Linked DNA regions of Homo sapiens: region 2 is linked to region 1. Evidence: promoter capture Hi-C in 16 types of primary human blood cells and fetal thymus (Javierre and others, 2016). All regions are on one chromosome and are shown on one strand. The core of a region is centred on a gene start or on the middle of the fragment in contact, and the rest is flanking DNA. Distances in the headings are between cores, read along the strand shown.

Region 1 (5,897 bases), core at 1-2,500:
ACACTTTGTGCCTTTACACGCATTTTTCCTTCCATCTGGAAGGCTTCTACCATCTGCCAAGGTAACACTGCGAGGTCTCACCACAAACTGAATTGATAGTCTCAGGCTGAGTTTGCAGAGAACCAAAGTCACTCCTCTACCATCAGAGTACTCCCCTATCACCACATACATTATCATCCACTGTAGTTGTCTTATCTGTACCTGGTAAATACAGCAGCTAACGCTCACGAGTGCTCACCACAGGTCAAGATTATCTCACTTATCTTCACAAGACAGTAGAGAGCGGCCACACGACTGACAGAATTCCAATTCCAGCCGTATGATTCCAGAGCCCAAGCTCTTAACCGCGAGGCTGAAGTTGAAATATCAATAAATGCTCGCTGACTAAAAGTACTAAATACGAGAGAGAGATCAAAAGATGACTAGTCAAGTCGCGTAGTTAAATCTGAACCCTAAGGTGACACAAAAAGAGGATGCGCAGGAGGCAGGGTTCAATTCAGGGCGTTTAAAAGGAGGAGGTTATTGGCCAAGTCCGCTAAGCACCCGGAGAGAGGCCAGGAAAGATGGAGTGAGGAGAGGGAGGAGTCAAGGGCCACTCTGGAGGGGTGCATGAGATTGGCGGTCTGGGGAGAGGACAGACTGGGTCGCACACGACTGAATTTCCCAGCGCAGAAGCCGCTGCGTTGCCTCCGCGCCCCTACCACTGCACTCGGAAGGTCAAAGTAGTATCAACCGCGGCGGTGGCTGCAGCGCAGATCCCGACTCCTCTCGCCTCCTCCCGCGGCCACGGCTTCTTTTCTCCGTTAGCCACGCAGCTACCTACTCCCGCTTCCGGTTCAAACCCTGCGTGACTGCCCAGCGCCCACTTCTGGAGGAAGAAGCAACGCCAAGCAGCCGCAGAGCACGGTATGCCCATGCGCATCCAGTATCACGCGGTCTCCGCGCTCAAAACACTGCCCCAAAACATTCGGCCCGTCGGAGCAAACGCGCCTGCGCCATGTCCACCAATGGCCAGCGACTTAGCGTTTGCGGCTCGCCCTTCGGCTCGGGCTCCGGGGCTCTCACCCACCCTCTTCGCCCTCGTCGTCCTCCCCGCCCTCCTCATCCCCGCCCCTCCAAGTCTGAGGACGGAAGTGACGACAGTTCCGAAGGCGAACGGAGGCGGGTTTCATTTCGGCGCCTTTCTTTCTCTGGCGGAAGCGATTGGCTGCCGTGAAGCGAAAGAGGCGGGACAAATTGCCGCGAGTTCAGTGCCGCCACTGGAACCAGGAGATGCGGCGCAGGAGCTGTCGCTGTGTTTGCTTTAACCTGAGTCTTGTTCCTTATTGTGGTTCCTGCTGTGGTTTTGATCATGTTGTTACCCTCGGACGTAGCCCGGCTTGTATTGGGTAAGCGCGGACGCGGGATGGAGGGTTATTGGACCCGGCTATGCTGGACAGAAGGACCTTTGAGGCCAAAGGTTTTCCCTTGGTAGGGAAGCTTTGGGGTTTTGCCTCCCAGCTTACGAGTTGAGACTGGCGGTGATTCTTCGTCATTCGGAGGTTCTGGGCAGTTTAAGCCTCTTTGTATGTAGATGCTCCTCTCTTCAGAGGCTGCGTGGCGAGGGGAAGCCCGAGGGGAAGCTCGGGGTGGAACACCTGGGGCGGATTCGGAAGGAAAGTCAGGCCTCCACACTTAATTAGGACCCCTGAAAGAGCATTTGTCTGCATGACGGACGGATTGCGTGTGCTTCAACCTTGGGCGCAATTTCCTTGGTTCAGTGTTGGGACCAAAATAGGGCAAATAGGGAGTTCCCCGGCCCCCCATCTTTGTAGAGAGACCTTCCTGGCGCCCTTCTAATAACCCGCCCTTATAACTACGAATTTGGGAGTAGGGGTGATCTTCCTTCTCCATCCTCCACGCAATACGTCGTCCAGTGTAGAGGTGTGAAATGCCAGTTGCATATTTTAAAACAGCAATTCCTGTTCCTTTGATCAGCGAAAAATTTCAGAGGGTTAATTGCCTTAAATTAGTTGAACGTTTTCTAGCCCTAGTTTTACCTTCATTTGAGGAGGGATTGTTTGTGGGTCACTTGTCTGTCAGGGTGTATTGTCTGTGTGAGAGACGGGTTTTGTTGTTGTTTGTCCCCTGAAAGAATAAAGAGGATTGTACTACAGGGGACGAGAGCCAGGTAAAGCTCAAAACCCGAGCCAGTAATTTACGGACGTCGTATGCGACGTCCCTAAAAGTAAATGGCAAGCATCTGTGATGAAACCTCCCATAGTATTCACAGCCATTACTACTATTATTTTATTGTTCGGAAAACCCATTTGTCTTGTGCCTCTTTTAAATGCCCAGCGCTGTCCACAAAAATGTTATTTGCGCAGGGCTCTTGATAAGCACATTTTGCAGGAAACGTTAAACGGAAATGGTTCCACCATCCATTTTTGAAGAAACTTAATGACAAGTTTAATGTTTTGTTAATGTCTGATTAATCTTTTGCTTAAGAATTCTGAGTTTTGGCAGTTTGGTAATCTAGTTGAGTTTCGGTAACTATAGTCTTAAACATGGTTTCTCAGCCTCAGTACTGTTAACATTTTGGGCCTCATAATTCTTTATTGTGGGGAGCTATCCTGTGCTCAAACATTGTAGGATGTTTAGCAGCATTCCTGGCTTCTATTCACTAGATTACAGTAGGACACCCGTTCCCCACCCTACCCTTACCCAGTTGTGATCAGTGAAAATGTCTCTAGATATTGCTAGTATGTCCCCTGGAGGGCAGAATCACCCCTAGTTAAGAAAGCCCTAAGAAAGCAGTATCATTTTCTAATTGAAATAATTCACATCGATGTGTGAGTATTCTTTCTCCACAAACCAGCTACTCTGCTGACTTCCTGCTTTTCATTTAATGGACAAAAAACGCCAGCCATGGTTTTCTTATCTTAAAAATCTTTGTCATTCACATTCCATTTTCACTGCCACCAATCCCGCAATGTGCCTGCCATTACTTCTCTTTTGGACTTCTGTCATGGCTTCCCAGACAGTTGTCCTCGCAATTCATTTTATTTACTGTTGTTACAAATCTCCCTGAAGCTTTCACACTATACCTTTTAGTCTGAAAGTTGAGATAATTCTATTCTTACTAAAAATTTCAGATGGGCAGGAGTATACAATACAAAAAAGCCTCCCCATGCCTAATGCTCTTACTTTTGTCGTTTATCATTTTACATCTTAAATAGATACATATCGTGTATATCTTTCTCATATGAGGTTTATTATTTACTCATGATTCTTTTCCTATCAGTACCCCCTCGCCATCTTCAGCTCCTCTTGTTATTGGTCCCTTCATAATGTTTTTTTTCTAGCAAATCTTTGGGTGCCTAGTATGTTCCAAACACTGTGCCAATTGCTGAACATAGAGAAGTTAAGTTTTCTCCCCTTAGTGTTCAGATAATTAGGTTTTTTTTAAATTCTTAAACATACACACAAAAAAACACTTTTCTGGACCCCACTAGACATTAGACACCCATTAAACAGAACATTCTGTCTTATGTTCTGTGTCACCCTTTCACAAGTCAAATTTATTCAAAGAACAATGAATTCCACTTAGTTGCTGTTCTTCACCTACCTTTTATCCTTCAGGATACTGCACTCTGACTTTTGCATCTCACTACTCCACTTAAGTAGCCCTTATTGCCTTGCTGGGATTTTACAAAATGTTGTGTGGGCCAGAATACATCAAAGTGTTTGTTGCCTCTGGGCCATCAGTTCAGTTTTTATCTATTTATTCAAGGTGCTCTGTGGAACTGATCCTACCTACCTCTCCAACTTGATCTCAACTTCCTAACATCTGTTTTATGCTGCAGACATGCCAAACGAATTGAAGTTTCTTTGAAAATTCTTGTATGTATTCTACTTCTCTTTGTCTTCCTAGTACACTTCTATTCAAGGTTCAGGTCATGCCTGATCTCTGAAACTTCATTCAGCAAGTACAGTCAGTACTTCTTAAATGTTGCCATAGCATTGTACTTCTGTTACAACCTTATCATGTCTCATTGTAGATGTGTGTTTACTTTTTTTTGATAAAATATACTAACAAAATTCAACACTTAAAAATGTATAGTTCTTAAAGCCCAAAACAATGAGTTTGTTGTTGTTGTTGTTGTTGTTGTTGTTTGTTTTTAATGTACAGATCAGTAGTGTTAACTATATTGACATTTTTCTGCAACCATCACTACCATCAGTTTCTGGAACTTTTTCATCTTCCCAATTTGAAACTTACTTGGTTTTTTGTTTTATTAGTAGTCTTAGTCATGGATGAATGGACAAGCTTCAAGAGTTCTGGGAGTCCCCAAAACTATCATCTGTGAAGGTTTTCTTGAATAGATTTGTTACCTTCTGTATGAGACAGCATGCAGTAAAAAAAGTAGAAACCATTCTGAGTATTTAACATGGAAAGATTTAATGAGAGAATTCGTTTACACTGGTGAGAGAAAAGCTAAGACGCCCAGCAGCTTACAACTAAGGCATCTCAGTGGTTAGCAACAGTAGGAAGCCACTATGCTAATGAGAAGGATAAGGAGAGAGGAAGCAATCAAGAGGCTGGTTTGACTGCGGAACGTGGAAGACTTGTCTGATGAGGGAGTGGTAGTCTTAGAGGAGACTCTACTGAGGCAGAAAGGGAATGGGGGAAAAATATGGCTGCTTCCTCCTGCCCTCCAGCCTCCCACCAGTGCTTCCTATTTACTGAGCCCAGCCAGTAGCAGGCCGACAGAAGAGCTTGGGGAACATTGCCTATATAGAGTCAAGCTTTATGTCATACAGTAGAGAGCGACAGAAGGGTCAAGAACGTGTTTGAGGTCAAACAGGACCAAAACTGACACACCCCTAACAGGTCAAGAGCTGCTGGTTCTATTCACCTTTATATCACCAAAACATAGATATTTAATAAAACATTTGCAAAAGTATGGCTCTGATTATGACACTCCTTTGTTTATTTAATAATATATGTACTCATTGCTGTCTAAAACTTTTCATGATCCTTACCCATTTTGTCTTTTCTGTTGTATCTCCAACTGTTACCCTTCATAAACCTTGTGCTGCATCCAAACTGGACATGTTCCCCAAATATGATTGCATATATACTTTCTGTCAGCTTCTTTGGGATTCCCAACCATCCTTCAGTACTCATCTGCACCTTCAAACATCACATAATTTCCAAGCTTAGTAGTGGTTTCTCCAGCCCCTCCCTTCCCATGAAGTGAGTCAGCTCTATTTTCTTACCATTTTTGCTTTGCATTACAGTTATTTGTGTATATATCTTCTATCTCCAAGTAAATTGTAACTTTATAGACAGAAACCTTGTCCCTGTTATTTGTGGATCTAGTAATATAAGACAACATAAGGTACGGCTTCCTAAGAATTATTTGCATGCTTAACGAACATTAAATTACTAATCTTTCTAGGAAATAATAAAATATGTGAAGGAGATGTTTTCACATAGCGTGCTTTACTATCTCTTGCTTGCTTTAAACCTCTCTTTTTATCTTTCCCTCTCTACAAGTAGGAAGAAAAAATACCCTTCATATAGTTAGGATCTTATCCTTTCTTCTCTTTTTCGGTTGTTTCCCCTTCAATTCATTTAGTTACTCATTACCACCTCCACTTATAATAAAAGTAGGCTGAAGATAATATTATGTTAAGAAGGAAACTCAGGCATACTTTCTTACCTATTCGGGGACCTTTGTCAGTAAGTTTACACAAAAAAATACACTTCTTTTATTCTTAAGTTGTTTTTAGGAATAAAAGGAAAAAACAGTAATAACTAATATTAGTTGTAGAATAACGATTTGTATTATACTGATAAGAGATGATTAGTGCCTAGTTTGTATTTTCTATTTTATTTATTTATTTCTTGA
Region 2 (6,112 bases), core at 1,001-3,500, about 14 Mb after region 1:
AAGACCAACAGATCAGATTTCCTTAGGCTTCCATAACTCCAGCATTCAGTTGTAGAAATACTGGAGCCTACTTTGGGGAGGGGATGAAATAGTGTGACAATGGACTGAAAGGTATCTACCACAATGATTACAAACCTAAATGCTTGTAGTGTTGGGCAAAAAATATAAATGCAGGTTGGCTGTGCCGAATTGTATCCTTTAAAGGGAGCAGGGGTCGACTGGGCTGCTACCAAATGTGGGCCACTGACTGCTAACAGATAATGTTTCAAAAGTATCTAAACACAACAAGAACAAAAGCAGCCACATAAAACGTGGTTTAGTTGTAATTCTTATTTTCAATCTGTTATGTTTATTTGTGGAAGGATAAACTGCACATACTGCTAGATGAAAACCAGTCACCAGTTGACTGGTGTTGAAAGCAAGCAGATTATAAGTTGCTTAATATGAGGAGCAGGTTTCCAATACTTATTCCAATAATGGATGAATTCATTGCACTGGAATGAGGCTCAACACTGAAAGTGCTGAAGCACAGGCAGAACCACCATTTTTCAGGGAAGTTGGAGAAAGGATATCTGAATTGGGAGAAAAAGGATCTTTTGTAAAATACTCTCAGAAGACAGTTTTCAAATTTTTAAGTTTCTGCATTATGCTGGATATTTCTAGTGATCACAAGCTGGATAGCAATATTAACAAGCAGTTTTGCTTGTATTTTGTTTCAGGTTTTTCCTGCCAGGCATTGTGGTGTGTCCAAACTACTTCGGAAGTTGAGGCAGGAGGATCCCTTGATCCTAGGAGTTTGAGTTCAGCCTGGGTAGCATAGTGGGAACTTCATCTCTAATTTTAGAAGAAAAAAGTTTTTTCCCAAAAAGGAATTTAAATGTTATTTATACAACACTGATTTCACTTACCCAGACTGGTATAGAGCTCTGTAATGAAAATGATCCAGAACTTGCAAAAAGCTCTGATTCTCCTAGTTGAGATAGTTTTTTGGTGATTTTTGGAATGTCTGTTTCAGCTGAATTCTCAAAATATTTTTCATTTTGAGTAGTTAAGGAATATGGTGCCTGAATTGAAGTTCCCATCTCCACTGTTCTTACACATAATCGAGAGTCAGTTTCCTCTACCTGTGGATTTATGTCTAAAACCCTACAGGTTTCATTTTTATTATCTTCAATGAGTCCTTGACTTTGTAACATTGTAACAACCCCTCTTTTTGATAGTTCTTCAAAGCCCATACTTTCCTTTCTGCTTTCTAGTTGGTGTTTTGTTGAGCACTCACTAGAGTTAGAACCACATGGAGTGCTATGCTGTACATTTAACTGATCAAATACATTAGCTTCATCAGATGAACTGTAGACTGAACTTAAGTTTCCTATAGAAAGCTGGAAATGAACAATTTTTTTCTTGTTTTGTAATATTTCAGTATGTTCTTCAGAGGGATAGTTCTGATTTTTCATGCCTTGGGAAGAATCTCTTGCTTCAATGCTAAAAATACTTGGTAGATCAGCATGCTGGCTCTCCTCCTGTGAAGAATATTCTGGCTGAAGCTGTTCAAAACATTGTTCAGATCCTGCATTAAGAAATTCAAAAATCAGTTAATCATCGTTACATGTTGTAAAAGTTGGATACTGACAGTCTCTAATAGTTTATCATCCAATTGCAAGTAACCTACAATTTTAGGCATAAAAGTTGATGTGTATAAACATGAATACAAAGATAAGGATGGTCACAGTGATTTCTCAAACTACAGCTCACACCAAGTATTTTTTCTTTTTCTATTAATATTTAATAAGGACAATATGGCTATAAACTGAGGATGTTTTCCTCTATAAGAACTGAATATGACTTTAATAACAGAAAAGAGAATAAAGCATCCATGTGTATCTCAATTATCCATGTGTGTATATATAATTTGTACATCCTTGTGTATCTCATGTATGTTTGTGTGTATATATAATCATTTGTACCAAAGGCTCAAGAATACTTGTTTTCTATGTTGCCCAGGCTGGTCTTGAACTCCTGGGCTCCAGGGATCCTCCTGCCGCAGCTTCCCAAAGTGCTAGGATTACAGGCGTGAGCCACTATACTTGGCCTAAGAAGAATACTTAAACTGGCTGGGCATGGTGGCTCACACCTGTAATCCCAGCACTTTGGGAGGCCAAGACGAGTGGATCATCTGAGGTCGGGAGTTCTAGACCAGCCTGACCAACATAGTGAAACCCTGTCTATACTAAAAATAGAAAATTAGCTGGGTGTGGTGGCACATGCCTGTAATCCCAGCTACTTGGGAGGCTGAGTGAGGCAGGAGAATCACTTGAACCCAGCAGGCGGAGGTTGCAGTGAGCCAAGATTGCACCACTGCACTCCAGCCTGGGCAACAAGAGTGAAACTCAGTCTTCAAAAACAAAATAAAAACAAAAACAAAAACAAAAAAAACAAACAAAAAAATAATACTTAAACTGTTAACTATCACATAATGATTGAGGTAGGGAAATTGAGGAACAAGAGGCAACACTTTTCCTTTTATTTCATAATGTTCAGTATTGTTTAAAAAAATGCATGTATTACTTCTGTAATTTAAATATTTTTTAACACCCAGGATAGGGGTGAGAGCAGGGGTGAAGACAAACCAAGAGGTGCTAGGCTTAATTTCTAAGGAAATGGATGTAAAAAATCATGGAAAAATTAACTTTTTCTAACTTAGTCATACATACCCCCAATAATATTTTCTGTAGCAAAACTGTGAGCTCCAACATGAGCCAAGTTAGTGTCAGGTTGTTGATTCGGACTTGTGTTAAGAGAAGAATGCATGCTGGTCCTCCTCAGTGCTGTGAAATAAACTGTACTTTTGGATAATCCAGTAGCACAGTGGCTTTCAGATGAAGAATCTGATCTCTGGCAGGAAACAAAAGGGAAAGGCTGAAATACTGATTAGGTATTAACAATTGAAACAATAATCATTGTGTTCCTTTGGTATTACTCTTCCTTAATTATCACTTCACTATGACAGCAATGATTTGCTTTTTCAAATCCAGTTCTTTTCAATCAATATGAAAGAGACTTTAAAATGTCAGGCCATCAGGAAGTGGAAGCAAAAAGACTCAGGTTTAAATCTCAGCTCCTTTGACTGTGTAGGAGGATACTTTAAATTTTGCAAAATTGTATTTACTTTACTGTTTAAATATGTTCCACAACTAAAAGTTGTTATTAAGCCTTTTATGGCATCATACTCCCTAGGTGGAGACAGGTGGATGGGACAAACAAAATTCTAATGTAGCTGTTTTCCTTTTTTTTTTTTTGAGATGGGGTCTCACTATGTTGTCCAGGCTGGAGTGCAGTGGCACGATCTCGGCTCACTGCAACCTCTGCCTCCCAGGTTCAAGCGGTTCTCAGCCTCCCGAGTAGCTGGGACTACAGGCATGCCATCACACCCAACTAATTTTTGTGTTTTTTAGTAGAGATGGGATTTCACCATGTTGGCCAGGCTGATCTCAAACTCCTGGCCTCAAGCAATCCACCTGCCTCAGACTCCCAAAGTGCTGGGATTACAGGCATGAGCCACCGCACCCGGCCCAATGCAGCTGTTTTCAAAGTTGGTTCCACATTAGAATCACTTGGGGAGCTTAAAAAATAATAATAATAATTAGTACTATCTGAGCACTCCCAGAAACTCTGCTTTAATTGGTCTAGGGTGTAGTCTGGACAATAGGATTTATTTTTATTTTTTATTTAAGTTTTCCATGTGATTCTTTTTGTTTGTTTGTTTGTTTCTTTTTTTAAAGACAGGGTCTGGCTCTGTCACCCAGACTGGAGTGTAGTGGCACGATCTCAGCTCACTGCAGCCTCCACCTCCTGGGCTCAAGTGGTCCTCCCACCTCAGCCTCCCGAGTAGCTGGGACTACAGGTGCGCACCACGACACCTGGCTAATTTTTGTATTTTCAGTAGAGACAGGGTTTTGCCATGTTGGCCAGGCTGGTCTCGAACTCTTGGCCTCAAGTAATCTGCCCGCCTTGGGCTCTCAAAGTGCTGGGATTACAGGTGTGAGCCACTGTGCCCAGACTTCCATGTGATTCTAGGTAAGGGTTTAGAAGAACTTTTGTTCCAGTAGAAGAAATGGCTTAAAACTATTTTTAGATATTCACTGCAATGGGACATCTACTTTAATATACCTGGTAAAAGTCTCTGTTGTCTGGAGAAATCCCAGAGGATGATGATGATAAGTCAAAATCTGGATGTGGTTCTAAGGGTTTAAACAGCTGATGATGCAAATTAGGAAAAATGTGTTCCAATTCTGGAAAGTCAAGGTCAACTGTTAGAATTTTTGAGGGAAAAAAATCATAAATTTATTTTTAAGGTAAACACTAGAAAAGGAGTATTAAGAACATATTCATAAACGCTTATTTTCAGGTAACTCCAGTGTAACAAAAACTTCAGTTTTTCCCCCATGATCAGCAGATGCTTTAAAGTTAAGTCCTATCATGATTATTTCAAAGGTCCAAAATATGGATCCTCTCAGTGACCAAAACTTTTTAAGTTTTATTTTTAGAGAAATTTAATTTTTTTAAATTTAAAAAATTTTTTTTTAAAATAGAGATGGGGTCTCAGTGTTGCCCAGGCTGGTCTTGAAATCCTGGGCTCAAGCAATCCTCCTGCCTCAGCCTCCCAAAGTGCTACGATTACAGGTATGAACAAACTTTTGACAAATACGAATTTCCATTTCCACAGCCTTATGAGGCTAATGAGGATCAACAGGACATATGTAACCACTGCTTCAGTATAAGCTTAAAAAAGGAAAAAGGCTCACTGTATTCAGTGTTACTATGGGCCAGACATTGTGCTTTATGTGCACTATCTCATTTAATCTATAATATTCCTCTTTTATAAAAGATTAAAAAGTAACTTGCCCATGGTTTTACAGCTAGGAAATGGTCAGGCTATGACTCAAATCCAGAACTGTATGATTTCTGAGCTCCTGCTCTTATTTATCAGTAATACCGCCTCAGCCGTAATAGCTAACTCTGCAATGGCAAAGGAAGATTTGCTAATTAATCTCCTATAAATGTGCCTCAGTGAGTCTAATTGGTTCCAGATCCCCTTTCTCACTAAATGCCCTCAATATATTCTGTGGTAAAACGGTGTTGTAGCAGGCCATAAGAACATGAAGCTCAAACAATCACTGCATAAAATTTAAAATGATGAAAGGTGAAAATTTAAAACTTAATTTACATAAAAGTATTGCTTTAAAATAATTTTACCTTGCAAATCTGTTTTTTCAGGTATCAAATTTGCTTCATTAATGTACTTGTCTATCATTTGCTGAAAGTGTGTGTGACCACATGTAGTTTCATCCACTGCAGGCAACAGAGATTTATGAACGTCTGAAGAGTTCTGCCGCTGATAAATATCTTGTGTTGAAGGAACTATGGAACTTATAATATTTGTTTCCTCTTCTTTACTGGTGGTAGATTCTTGCTTGCTATCATCCATGTGCTCTGAAAATGACTCTGAAAATTGAGTTTAATGAAAATATGTAAATAGGCCAGGCGTGATGGCTCACGCCTGTAATACCAGCACTTTGGGAGGCCGAGGTGGGTGGATCACGAGGTCAAGAGATGGAGACCATCTCGCCAACATGGTGAAACCCCATCTCTACTAAAAATACAAAAATCAGCTGGGCGTGGTGGCGCACACCTGTAGTCCCAGCTACTCGGGAGAGCCGAGATTGCACCATTGCACTCCAGCCTGGCAACAGAGCAAGACTCCATCTCAAAAGAAAAAAAAATGTAATTGACAGCGACACTATATTCCTTTTAATGGAATATTCCTTACAGACATACTGTACTGGGTACTTCCTTACAGACATATTTTAGTGGAGAAGCATGGTAATACATATTGTTAAGAGATCAGTGCAACCATGAAATTTGCTCGGATAGGTTTCCACTGAATGGAAAAATATATCAGCAACTGCTTCTCAAAAGTATTGTTGGGGATCTACAGAGCATCCCTGTTACTTCCAGTAATATTTAGAATACCATATGCGCCAATGTTTTGCTGGGTGTGAATATTTTACTTTTTTTTTTTTTGAGACAGGGTTTCACTATGTTGCTCAGG

Evidence for each region. Contacts are between HindIII fragments. The CHiCAGO score rates a contact against its expected background, and 5 or more counts as called.
Region 2: a contact is called between a fragment that was not itself captured here and the fragment with the promoter of NPAT in region 1, in 1 of 17 cell types (total B cells). The highest score is 6.8, in total B cells.

Annotation. Positions count from the first base shown.
Region 1 is chr11:108,217,991-108,223,887 of GRCh38, reverse strand. It overlaps NPAT (nuclear protein, coactivator of histone transcription), which reads left to right and starts at 1,250. Exons shown (of 18, transcript NM_002519.3): 1 at 1,250-1,388. The coding sequence starts at 1,352. ATM (ATM serine/threonine kinase) reads right to left here and starts at 821. Exons shown (of 63, transcript NM_000051.4): 1 at 702-821. RefSeq lists enhancers at 335-414, 725-884, 1,295-1,354, 4,330-4,831, 5,392-5,536 and a cis regulatory region at 5,464. The HindIII fragment of the contact is 4,203 bases long and covers 1-1,481 here.
Region 2 is chr11:93,722,434-93,728,545 of GRCh38, reverse strand. It overlaps CEP295 (centrosomal protein 295), which reads right to left. Exons shown (of 30, transcript NM_033395.2): 21 at 5,257-5,505; 22 at 4,171-4,292; 23 at 2,715-2,895; 24 at 909-1,570. Among named protein-coding and RNA genes, the nearest start is that of SNORA25, 5.2 kb to the left of the region's middle. The HindIII fragment of the contact is 5,069 bases long and covers 1-4,784 here.